3 separate regions of the Homo sapiens genome follow, and regions 2 and 3 are each linked to region 1. The links are contacts of gene promoters, found by promoter capture Hi-C in human tissues and cell types (Jung and others, 2019). All regions are on one chromosome and are shown on one strand. Each heading gives the region's core, a stretch centred on a gene start or on the middle of the fragment in contact. The rest is flanking DNA. Distances are from core to core; before and after follow the strand shown. Region 1 holds the start of SUMO3 (small ubiquitin like modifier 3). Region 2 overlaps TRPM2 (transient receptor potential cation channel subfamily M member 2). Region 3 holds the start of LRRC3 (leucine rich repeat containing 3).

Evidence for each region. The method cuts DNA at HindIII sites, captures the fragments that hold promoters and counts their contacts. A contact is called where the count stands out against the background at its distance.
Region 2: a contact is called between a fragment that was not itself captured here and the fragment with the promoter of SUMO3 in region 1, in 1 of the 25 tissues and cell types used here (lymphoblastoid cells).
Region 3: the fragment with the promoter of LRRC3 here is called in contact with the fragment with the promoter of SUMO3 in region 1 in 1 of the 25 tissues and cell types used here (spleen).

What each region holds. Positions count from the first base shown.
Region 1 is chr21:44,816,271-44,820,014 of GRCh38, reverse strand. It overlaps SUMO3 (small ubiquitin like modifier 3), which reads left to right and starts at 1,953. Exons shown (of 4, transcript NM_006936.3): 1 at 1,953-2,067. The coding sequence starts at 2,047. RefSeq lists silencers at 1,342-1,441, 1,462-2,041, 2,222-2,421. The HindIII fragment of the contact is 28,474 bases long and covers 1-3,744 here.
Region 2 is chr21:44,389,385-44,393,128 of GRCh38, reverse strand. It overlaps TRPM2 (transient receptor potential cation channel subfamily M member 2), which reads right to left. Exons shown (of 32, transcript NM_003307.4): 10 at 2,104-2,225; 11 at 1,504-1,857. Among named protein-coding and RNA genes, the nearest start is that of TRPM2-AS, 34 kb to the left of the region's middle. The HindIII fragment of the contact is 4,893 bases long and covers 1-3,744 here.
Region 3 is chr21:44,453,444-44,457,187 of GRCh38, reverse strand. It overlaps LRRC3 (leucine rich repeat containing 3), which reads right to left and starts at 1,678. Exons shown (of 2, transcript NM_030891.6): 1 at 1,533-1,678; 2 at 1-690. The coding sequence starts at 543. LRRC3-DT (LRRC3 divergent transcript) reads left to right here and starts at 1,904. Exons shown (of 4, transcript NR_047476.1): 1 at 1,904-1,944; 2 at 2,136-2,211. RefSeq lists silencers at 1,320-1,749, 1,838-2,017 and an enhancer at 2,181-2,681. The HindIII fragment of the contact is 13,764 bases long and covers 1-3,647 here.

The DNA of each region.
Region 1 (3,744 bases), core at 704-3,203:
ATTTGGGTTCTTTACCCTGTGCTCGTGGTAGGCCACGGTTTTTCCTGAGCTCTGGTTCCTCCGTCCATTCGATCCCCTTTGGCTGTGTCCTTCAGAAACCTCTTGGCGTTCGGTCCACCAGCGGTGTCCTTTGTGTCCCCACAGCTGCGACAGAGCCTTTTTGCATCTTTGCTGTCACATGAAGGATTCGGGGCAGGTCACAGTGTGGGAGACAGACACAGCATGAATTGAATTCAGACCACCATTGTCTTATAGCCTGGCTTTTTAAAACCTAATGTCATCTGAGCCTCTTTTTCCCTTATCCATGACTGTAGTCACGCATCACTTCGTGACACAGCAACTGGCGTAATTTCGAGCGGTAACACATTTGGGTTCTGTGTCTCATGATTTCTAAGCTGCGTGTTTCTCACTTCCACAACACTGAAGCGGGCTGCCGTCATCCACAGCCTGCCGGAGTTTAGTGTGTCTGTGCTACCTACGGTCGTGTTGTTTTATGATTAACGGTGTCTTGGAGTCGATAACTCTCTGAACCCTGCCTGCCCTAGGGCACTTCCAGGGCCAGCAATCTGTGGGCTCTGAGGCGCCACGTCCCCTCGGAAGGGGCTGGTTGCGGAGCCCCCTCCCAGGACCGTCTGAGCTGGCCACCCACCTCCACATCCTCTGCTGAGGCCCTGGGCTCCAGGTTCCAGAAGGAAGGGACCACACCTTATGACCTGCCTGGGACTGGGGCTGACTCTCAGACCCTCTCCCCGAAAGACTTCAGCAGCCTTCCCCCTCCTAAGTGGGGGCTCTAGCCAAGAAAGTGAATTTTTGAGTAGAAGACGGTTTGTGAAGTTATGGTCCATGAAGACTTGTCTCCATGGCTTTGCGACGTTGCTCAGTTGGCTGAGCCTTTCCCAGGCAGGACAGAAACGGCTCAGACGCTTAGGTTCAAATCCAGGCCCTGCCATTTCCCAGCTGAGCCTGAAGTGCGGCCTCCCCCGCCTTCGGCCGGGCTCACCATCAGATGAGACCTCCGCCACGCCCCGGCTGGCACCACCCGGGCACTCCTGAGGGACGCAGGGGTGTCCGCCCTCAGGTCCGTTCCATCCGAGGCCCTGGGATCACAGACATGGAGGCCGGGGCGGGCCAGGCACCCCAGGAATGGCGCCCGCAAGTCCGGGGAGGCCGTCCTGCCGGCCCAGCGCGTTTCCCGCGTCCACGAGGTCCCCGTTCCGCCGGCACTGGCGGCGTCCAGCCTGGGTTTGCCCGCGCTCGCCGACGTGGCGGCCTGGCCAAGCTCGGCGCCGCTCACCAGCGCTGACCTGGGGGTGGTTTGACCTCCCAGTGCCTCAGTTTCTTCACAGGTAAAACGGGTCTTCTTGAGGACGGGTGTGGAGGGCCCGGGGCAGCCCCGTAGGAGCGTTGGCCAAAGGAGCCCGGCCTGGGGCTGACAGGAAACCGCGGCGGCAGGGAGGCGGGTGGCGCCCCCAATCGTCTAGGGTGCTGGCCCGATTCGCGCGGCCCCCGCGGACGGGACCCCGCGGGCCGCCTTCTCCGCTCTGTCCGCGGCTCCTGAGAGGGAACGTCACCCCCAGCGTCCTCCCTCCTCCGCCCCAGGTCCCTGCGGCCATGGGCGGCGGCCCCGGCCTCACTTCCCGGCGCCCCAGGAACGCGGCCCCCAGGAAAGGAGTCGGGGCCCGGGCGACGCGGGGAGGCGGGCAAGGGTCCCCAGGGCCCGGGCTCCCCGTAAACGCTCCTGGCCCGCGCCCCACAGCGCCCTAGGGCTTCCGCGCCCGACGGGGTCGCGCGGGACCCGCCCCGTGACGCATCTCCAACCGCCCAGAGCCGCGGCCCGGCCTGCGCGCGCCCGACGCCCCGGGGAGCGCGCCTCGTGAACGCGCGCAGCCACGTGACCCCCGTGCCGGCCAACGGGTGCGCCGGGATTTGGGGGATAAAGCGCGGCCCCGCGCACAGTTGCGGCGGGAGAGCGGCGGGGCCGAGAGCGTGACTCGCCCGCTCCGCGCTGCTTCCCCCGCGCCGCCTCCCCGCGCCGCTCGCGCAGCCATGTCCGAGGAGAAGCCCAAGGTAAGCGCGGCGACCCCGCCTGCACGCGCGTCTATCGCGGGCGTCCCGCCCCCAGCCCGGCTCCGCCCCCACCCCGACTCCGCCCCGCGTCCCGCCCCTGACAGGCTCCGCCCCTCCCCGCCCTCTAGAGCCCCGCCCCTAAGTGGGCCCGCCCAAGGTGCGCCCCCTCTGCCCCCGCGAAGCGCGCTGTGCCGCGAGCTCCGCCCCCTCCGGGCCTGGCCACGCCTCCGCTCCACGCCCGTCTCCTCCCCAGCTGGGAAGGCGCGCGCCCAGCGCCTCCTTGAGCGCCCGGTGTCGGGCCCCGCGCTGCTGCTCCTGCAGAGCGCGGCGCCCTCGGATCCCGCCCCAGCAGTGTCCCCGAAGCGTCTTTGCGTGCTCCTCTCCTGAGTCATTGCTGGTTGGGGTCGCCCTCTCCCCCGGCATCGCCCTGGGTGCGGGATCCTGTGTCGAGTGCACGGAGTCGGCTCGGGAACAAGCGTCTGGGGTTACCCCCAAGGGGCGCGCTCTGAGGGGCCTGGCCCCTGTGAGCAGCACTGCCGTCCTTCCAGGGCGCCCATCGCGACCCCGGTATTCACCCACTTCTCCGCATCGTGTCCCGGCCATCGCGTCCCCCAGTGTGCGCCCACCCCTCTCCTTCGTGTCTCCCCAATCGTGCCCTCAGTGTGCACCTACTCCCACCCATCGCGCCCCGTGTGCACCCACCGCCTCCATCGCGTCCCCCGGTGTGCGCCCACCCCTCCCCATCGCGCCCCCCGGTGTACGCCCACGCCTCCCCATCACGCCCCCCATGGTGTGTACCCACTCCTCCCCATCATGCCACCTGGTGTGCGCCCACCCGTCCCCATCATCGCGTCCCTGGTGTGCGCCCACCCCTCCCTATTGCGTCGCCCTCTCCATCACACCCCCAGTGTGTGCTCACCCCTCCCCGTCGCGTCCCCCAGTGTGCGCCCACCCCTATCCATCGCGTCCCCCTTTCCATCACACCCCCAGTGTGCGTCCACCCCTCCCCATCACCCCCTCCACGATGTGCGCCCACCCCTCCCCATCACGCCCCCTATAGTGTGTGCCCACCCCTCCCTATCACGCCCCACGGTGTGCGCCCACTTCTCTGCATTGCGCCTCCCCCACCATGCGCGCCCACCCCTCCTTATCCAGCCTTGGGTGGGCTTTAGTCTCCCCCATTGCCATGCTGGGGTGTGCCTCCCTCCAGTCTCAGTCCTGGGGTATGCACCCTGCATTCAGGTGCACTGGCCATTCCTTCTCGGGAGGGTCTGTAGTCGCATTCTCCAGTGTTCATAAAAAGAGAACCTTTCCGAAGCCCTTGGTGTGCACTGTCGGCCTCTATGTTACATCCCAGTGGAAGATGACTAGAGCTGAAGGCTCTGTAAAGAGGCTGTCTCTGATACTGGCCTGGTCCTGGAGGTGACCACCCTCCCTTTACAGATGAGGGTGGAGGCTCAGTGCCAGACACTGGCGGGAAGTGGGATGGAACCGTCAGGAACCATGGTCGCGGCCTCTATGGAAGTCTGCACTCTGCTTGCTGTGGTCAGACTCCAGGGAAACCTGCCCTATCCAGATGGCATTTGGGGTGACCTTTGCTTTTTACATTTTGACTCCAGTGAAGTCAAAGTTCTCCCACTCTGGGGTTGTTTGAATATTTAAATACTTGTTAAAACT
Region 2 (3,744 bases), core at 733-3,232, 430 kb after region 1:
GAGATTACGGCAGGGTTCCCACTGAATCAGGGTGGAGACTAGGGCAGGGTTCCTATTGAATAAGGGTGGAGATTAGAGCAGGGTTCCCATTGGATAAGGGTGGAGATTAGAGCAGGGTTCCCTTGAATAAGGTTGGAGACTGGGGCAGTCTCACCATTAAATAAAGGTGAGACTAGAGCAGGGCTCCCATTGAATCACAGGGTGCAGACTACAGCATCCACTCTCCCACAGCTGCAGTGCACCCTGGGCATCTCACAAAAATACGGTGGAATGTTACTGACCTGACTGTCGGAAAAAACCAGCATACACAGTGGGCAGCAGTGGGGCTCAGGGCAGGGGGATCACGCTCCCTGCAGAACCTTTTGTACTGTTTGGAACTTTTAGAAAGGGTATGTTATGGACGCAACTCTGTCCCCCCTAAAATTCATATGTTGAAGCCCTAACCCCCAGTGTGACTATAGCATTTGGAGATAGGGCCTTTAAGAAGGTAATTAAGGTTAAACGAGGCCACATTGTGGGTTCCTAAGTGGATAGGTGTGTTCTCTTTATAAAAAGAGGGGTGAGGCCAGGTGCGGAGGCTCACACTTGCAATGCCAGCAATTTGGGAGGCCAAGACAGGAGGATCACTTGAGCCCCGGAGTTTGAGACCAGCCTGGGCCATATAATGAGACCCCATCTCAACAAAATATTATAAAAAAAAAAAAAAAGCTGGGTGTGGTGGCACATGCCTATAGTCCCAGCTACTCAAGAGACGGAGGCAGGAGGATTGCTTGAGCCTGGGAGGTGGAAGGTACGGTGAGCCATGATTGCACCACTGCACTCCAGCCTGGGTCACAGAGCCAGACCCTGTCTCAAACATAAAAATAGACAAGGCACGGTGGCTGGAGGGTGTAAATTCCAGCCTTTTGGAGGGTGAGGAGAGCGGATCACTTGAGGCCAGGAGGTTGAGACCAACCTGTCCAAAATAGCAAAACCATCTCTACAAAAAAATAAAAAATTAGCCAGGTGTGGTGGCGCATACCTGTAGTCCCAGCTACTTGGGAGGCTGAGGTGGGAGGATTGCTTGAGCCTGGGAGGTTGAGGCTGCAGTGAGCTAAGATCACGCCACTGCACTCCAGCCTGGACGACAGAGTGAGACCCTGTCTCAAAAAAATAAAAAATAAATAAAAGAAAAAGAAGAGGAAGTGGCACCAGAGACTTCTCTCTCTGTCACGTGAAGACACAGCAAGAGGGCAGCCACGTGCAAGCAAGAAGAGGCCCTGGCCAGAAGCCAGCCCTGCTGGTGCCTTAATCTGGGACTTCGGGCTTCCAGAACTTCGAGAAAATAAACTGGTAGTTTCTGCCCCATCTGTGGAATTTTGTTACAGCAGCCCAAGCAGCCTAAGATAGAGCATGTGTCTTTTCTAATAAAAATAAAAGCTAATTTTAAAAACAGAGAGCTCTAAGAACATAGCAGTAGCCCGCGAAGACGAGTCCAGGATGGGCCCCGTTACCAGCACGCACGTTGAGCTTGACGTGGGGAACGGGCAGCAGGAGCCGCAGCCGGTCGTTGTGCCGGGGCCGGGGATAAAGCGGCTGCGTGAAGTCCCCCAGCAGCTCCCGCAGCACCTGGGCCACGTGGTGCATCTGCAGGCGGGGCGCCGCGGGCGCGCAAGCCGGGCGCTCGGGATCCTCCACCAGCACCTTCTGCAGCTTGCTGTGGAACAGGCAGGAGGGGTCCAGGTTCTCGTACAGGTAGAGCAAGGTGTCCCAGGTGACAAACTCCTTCAGCTGCACCCCGTTCTCCAGGAAGAGCTTCACAAACTCAGGCTTGTTGGAGATGAGTGCAGCTGTCATCGTGGGGTGCAGATCTGAAGGCTGAGAGCAAGCATTGTGCAGTGACGGTTGCATTTGGTCATCACCCCATGTCATCCTGATCTCAAAGACCCTGGAGATGGGGGCTGCTGTTGTCCCCAACCTGGGGAGGATGAAAGCTGCCCAGGTCACCCACCCTCAAGGGAAGGGCTGGGATCCAGACAATGCGAACTTTGCCTGCCCTTGCTTCAGTGGTGCAATGCATGTGGGCCCAGTAGGCCCCTCCACGGGGTGCTCTGGAAGACTTACCTTCCACTGCCACTCATCCATGAAGATCTCACTGCGGGCAATGTCCACGCGATTCCATGCCACTGCCAGTTTCAGCTGGTGGTCCCAGTTCTCGTGGCCAAAGTGGTCTTGGCTCCGTGAGGCTGCAGATGAACAGGTGCATATTGGGCCTCGATCTGGAGCTCAAAGCCATTTCCCTCCAGGGAAATGATGTCAGAGTCAGGGATGTGTCATGAGCCCTTGCCTCTCAACAATTCAAAGTGACAGGCGCAGCACCCAGTGACCTCCTCCCATACACACAGCCTTGCAAAAGCATGTTCCATTTCGGAGTCAGAATCAGTGAATCTTGGGGCTTTGGTCATCACGTCCACTCACTCCTGTTTCCCCTGCCCTCCTCCTGGCCATGCCCTGGCCCCTAAGCGACAGGTGGGCAGTAAGCAAGAAAAGGGCCTCACTGTTTTAAGAAGACATAGGTCTCTGGAGGGCAGGCATCTTACACTAACATCCAAAACTCAGGACTCAGAAGCCATCACATTTCCTTTCCTGCCTCAACTGCCTGTAAATGTTCAACAGTAACAACCACCTCACTGGTTCTCAGGACAAGTTATTTTGCTCAAGTAGTTTCTGTGTTCCCTTTCTGGTTTAACTTTTTAAAACATGGGTTGTTATTTGGGGAAAAAGAAAAAAGAACTTTGACCCTTACCTCACACCATACACAAGAATCAACATGGAGCGGTTCTTAGGCCCAAACATAAAGGCTATGTCTACAAAACTGCCGTCAGAAAACAGAAGAAAATATCTGCAACCTTGGGATGGGCAGAGATCTCTTAGCTATGACACAAAGAACATGAACCATAAAGAAAAATTGATTAAATTGGCTGGGCGAGGTGGCTCACACCTGTAATCCCGCATTTTGGGAGGCCAAGGCGGGTGGATCATGAGGTCAGGAGATCGAGACCATCCTGGCTAACACGGCGAAACCCTGTCTTTACTAAAAATACAAAAAATTAGCCAGGCGTGGTGGTGGACACCTGTAGTCCCAGCTACTTGGGAGGCTGAAGCTGGAGAATGGTGTGAACCCAGGAGGCGGAACTTGCAATGATCCGAGATCGCGCCACTGCACTCCAGCCTGGGCAACAGAGCGAGACTCCATCTCAAAAAAAAAAAAAAAAATTTTAAGCCTCCTGCTCTTCAAAGACATCTTGAAGAAAATATGAAAGGAAACTACACACCATGAGAAAATAATATCTGACGAACGATTTGTATCCGAATATATAAATAACTCTTACAAATCGAAAACTGGAAGACAAACAATCAAATAAAAATGGACAAGAGATCTGAAAGACATTTCAGAAGGAAGACAGGCAAATGGCCAAAAAGTCCTTAAAATGATGCTCCACATCAGTAGTCCTCAGGAAAATGTAAATTCAAACCACAATGAGATGTCACTTCACATCCACTAGGATGGCTACAGTTTAAAAGACTGACAACACCAAGTGTGGACAAGGATGTAGGGTAACGCTCATCCACTGCCAGCACACAGGAAAAAGAATGCAATATTTTCAGAAAAGTTTGTCAGTTTTTTACAAAGTAAAACATACACTTACCATAAAGGCCAGTAATTCCACTCCTAGATATTGACCCAGGAGAAATGAAGACAAA
Region 3 (3,744 bases), core at 429-2,928, 360 kb after region 1:
CACAAACTCCTCCTGCACTGAGGTGTGGCAGGCGATCTCGTCCACAGAGTCGGGGTCCAGCTTCAGCTCCCACAGGGCCTCCTGCAGGGCGCACTCGCAGTGCAGGGGGTTGTGGGACAGGCGTATCTTGGCGCTGAGTTTGCCCAGGGCGTCCTTGGGGATCCTCTGGATGCGGTTGTAAGACAGGTCCAGCAGCCGCAGGCCCCCGGCCAGGCCCGCGAAGGTGGCGGAGCCGATGGCCTCGATGGCGTTGTGAGACAGATCCAGCTCCCTGAGCCGGTGCAGGTGCTGGAAGGCCCCGTCCGGGAGGTGGGAGATCTTGTTGGCATCGAGCTTCAGGAGCACGGTGTTGGCCGGGATGTCCTCGGGGACCTCCTGAAGGCCCCGCAAGCTGCAGAAGACAGCCACAGCCCCTGCGTGGTCAGGGCACCGGCAGGGCTGTGGGCAGGCGGCGCCCAGGTGCAGGCAGAAGAGGAGGAAGAGACAAGACTCCCGGGTGGAGACCAGCAGGAGCGAGGGGCGAGGTGGGCGCACGGTGCCCATCCTGACCTGACCTGGGGACGGGGACACGCGAGCCTCTGCTAGGGCCTGGGGATGGAGCTGGTTTCCGCAGGCAAGGCCTTATCCAACCAGACATGAAACCGCCATCCTGCCCCGCTGGGAGAAGCAGTGCAGTCCACTCTGGCAGCTCTGAAAGGGAAGACGCAGGAGGGAGCGGAGAGGGAGGGAGGGTGGTCAGCACTGCCGGCTGCGGTCACCTGGGAAACGCGTCCACTGGTGGGGAGGGTGTTGAGGGCCCACTGAAGGGTCTGGGGTGGGGAGCACGCCTCCTTAAACAGCTCTGCCTGTAACTTACTTCTGGAGACTCCCAATGCGCCCGGGAGGAGCGTCCCACAAGTGCAGGGAGCTGGCACTGCCAGGGGGCTCCGCATGGCCCAGTGGGTGGTCACTGCGGCCACCCCTGGCCACCTACAGCACCGCTGGGGACCAAAGGCCGGGCGGCGGAGTGGCGGCGGCTTGGACCACCCAGCCCCTCCCTCCTCAGGGTGGACGCCAGGAGGACGGTGACGGCTGCAGCTTCTCCCGAACCTGGAGCGCGGGTCAAGCTGGGCACGTGGCCGGGCACCAGCGGGCGCTCGCGCGCCAGGGGCTACTCCAGCAGCCAACGCCTGGCTGACTCCGACAACCCCTAAAAACTGTCATAACCCAGCAAGCCCTTCCCTGCCAGCCCTAAAGGAGCCGCGGCTCGCACCGGGCACAGAACCGCGCCTTTTCTTTCAACTGCCTGAAGAAGGAAACCGAGAAAACAGAGAAGCCAAGCCCTGTGCGCGCGGCCCGCGCTGGGCGTGGACGGCGGGGCCGCGCGCGGAGCCGGCCGGGAGAGGCTCGGACCCCCAGGACCTCCAGCCTTTAGACCCTCCGGCCCTAGGACCCCCGGAACCTGGGACCCCCGAGACCCCAGCACTCGCGGCGGGGGGATGGTCATGGGGTGGGTGGGAATCCACGCTCCCAGGGCTGGGCGGGGGCTTTACCTGCGCGGCGGCGGCCGGAGGCTGCTCTGCGCGCCGCTCCCGGGCCTCTCGGAGCCCGCCAGACCCAGCTCCACGCCTGGCGCGGCGGCCACCCCGCTGCCCCTGCGACCGCGCCCGCGACCACTAGCTGGGGAGGCCGCGACTCCGGCCTGCGCGGGCGAGGGGCGGGGTGGGGCGGGGCCTGGAGGGGGCGGGGCGAAAGGCGGAGACAGGCTGTGTCGATTCCCCGCGGGGGCGGGGAAGGGGCGGGGCATGTAAGGAGACCGGAACGGGATTTGTGGTTAGGCGGGGGCGGGGCTTGAGGGCGGGTTCTGCGGCAGGGCGGGGCCTGGAAGAGATGGGGGAGGGGCATGGGAGGGGCATGGGAGGGGCCGGTGGTGCGGCTTTAGATGGAGCTGGTACTAAGACCCAGGTCGCAGGGGCTGTGGGCGGGTTGTGGGAGTAATTGTGGCATGCTGGGGGCGTGGTTGTGGGGCTGAGGACGAGGTGGTGGGGGCTGAGGGCGTGGTTATGGGTGGGGGCGGGGTCTGCGCGCCGGGAGGGGCTGTGGGTCCAGCCCCTGCCCCTCACTCTGGGCAAATCCCCTCTTCCCTCTGGCATCAGGACTTCTGGGGCTTGAAGACCCTGGGTCTGCGGGAAGCCCCTGCTGAGCGTCCCTCGCCTACCCCGTGGCCAGTGGGTGAGTAGGGCTAGATCTCCGCCCATCTAGGTCCCCTTCTGCTCCAGCTCCAGCGTCTGACATCCCAAGGAAGGAACGCAGGGTGGGGGCATTTGAGCCGGACCTGAGCCATCCTCATGGTTTTCAAAAAGTAGCCTTATTGTGGTGTAATTGACAGACGGTAAGCCACATATTTCAATTTGGTACGTTTTAACACTCGGATACTCCTGTGAAACCATCACCACAATCAGCATAGTGAACACCCCGGGTTCCCTCTTGGTCATCTCTCCCTGCCCTCCCTCATCCCCAGGCAAGCACTGATCTGCATTCTGTCACTACTGATTACTTTGCATTTCCTATGATTTGCACAAATGGAATCATATAATATGTACTTTTTGTGTAGCTTCTTTCACTCAGCACAATTATTTTTGAGATTTGCCTGCGTCATTTGGTTTGTCAATGCGTATTTCTTTTACAGCTGCATGGTACTCCAGTGTATGAATGTACCACAGTTTGTGTCCATTCACCTGCTGGTGGGCATTTGGGTTGTTTCTGGTGTTGGCTCTTACAGATAAAGCTGATCCGAACATTGTGCACAAGTCTTTGGATGAATGCTTTTCTTTCTCTTGAATAGATGTCTAGGAGTGGAGTGGCTGGATGCCACGGTAGCCATATGTGAAACTTTTTAAGAAACTGCCAAAGCGATTGTATGGTTTTACATTCCACATCCTCCCCAGCACTTGGTATGGTTTGTCTTTTTAATTTCAAATACTCTAATAGGTGTGTGGTGATAGATGGAACTGTGGTTTTAATTTGCGTTTCCCTGTTGGCCAATGATGTTGAGCATCATTTCATCTGTTTATTCTCCATCTCCTGTAGTAAGCGTTGAGTTCAAATCTTTTACTCACTTTTAATTGGGTTGTTTATTTTCTTATTATTGAGTTTGGGAGTTTGTTGCATATTCTGGATACAAGTCCTTTATCAGATATGTGATCTGTAAATGCTTTCTCCAAGCCTTTGGATTGTGTGTTCATTCTCTTAACAGTTTTTCAAAGAGCAGAATTTTTTAATTTTGAGGAAATCCAATTTATGTTTTTCTTTTATGGATCCTGCTTTTGGTGTCATATATAAGAAATCTTTGCCTCACCCAAAGTCACAAGGGTTTTAGAGTTTTAAAGGTTTGCATTTGGGTCTATTACCTATTTTAAGTTTATTTGGGTTTATAGTATGAGATATGATTCAATGTTTATTTTTTGTGTATGTGGATAATCAGTTTTTTCCAGACTGTTGAAAAGACTATCCTTTCTCTTGTTTGCTGAGAGTCTTTTTAATCAGGAATGAAAGTTGGATTTTGTTTTTTCTGCATCTATTGAGAATCTTTTTGCGTGATGATCTATTAATATGATAGAGTATAATGATTGATTTTAAAGTGTTAAATCAATCTTGTGTTCTTGGGATAAAGCCCACGTGGTCATGATGTATTATCATTTTTATATGTGGTTGAATTATTTAATGGATATACAACTGCTGAGTTTATTTTATTCTTGACTGAAT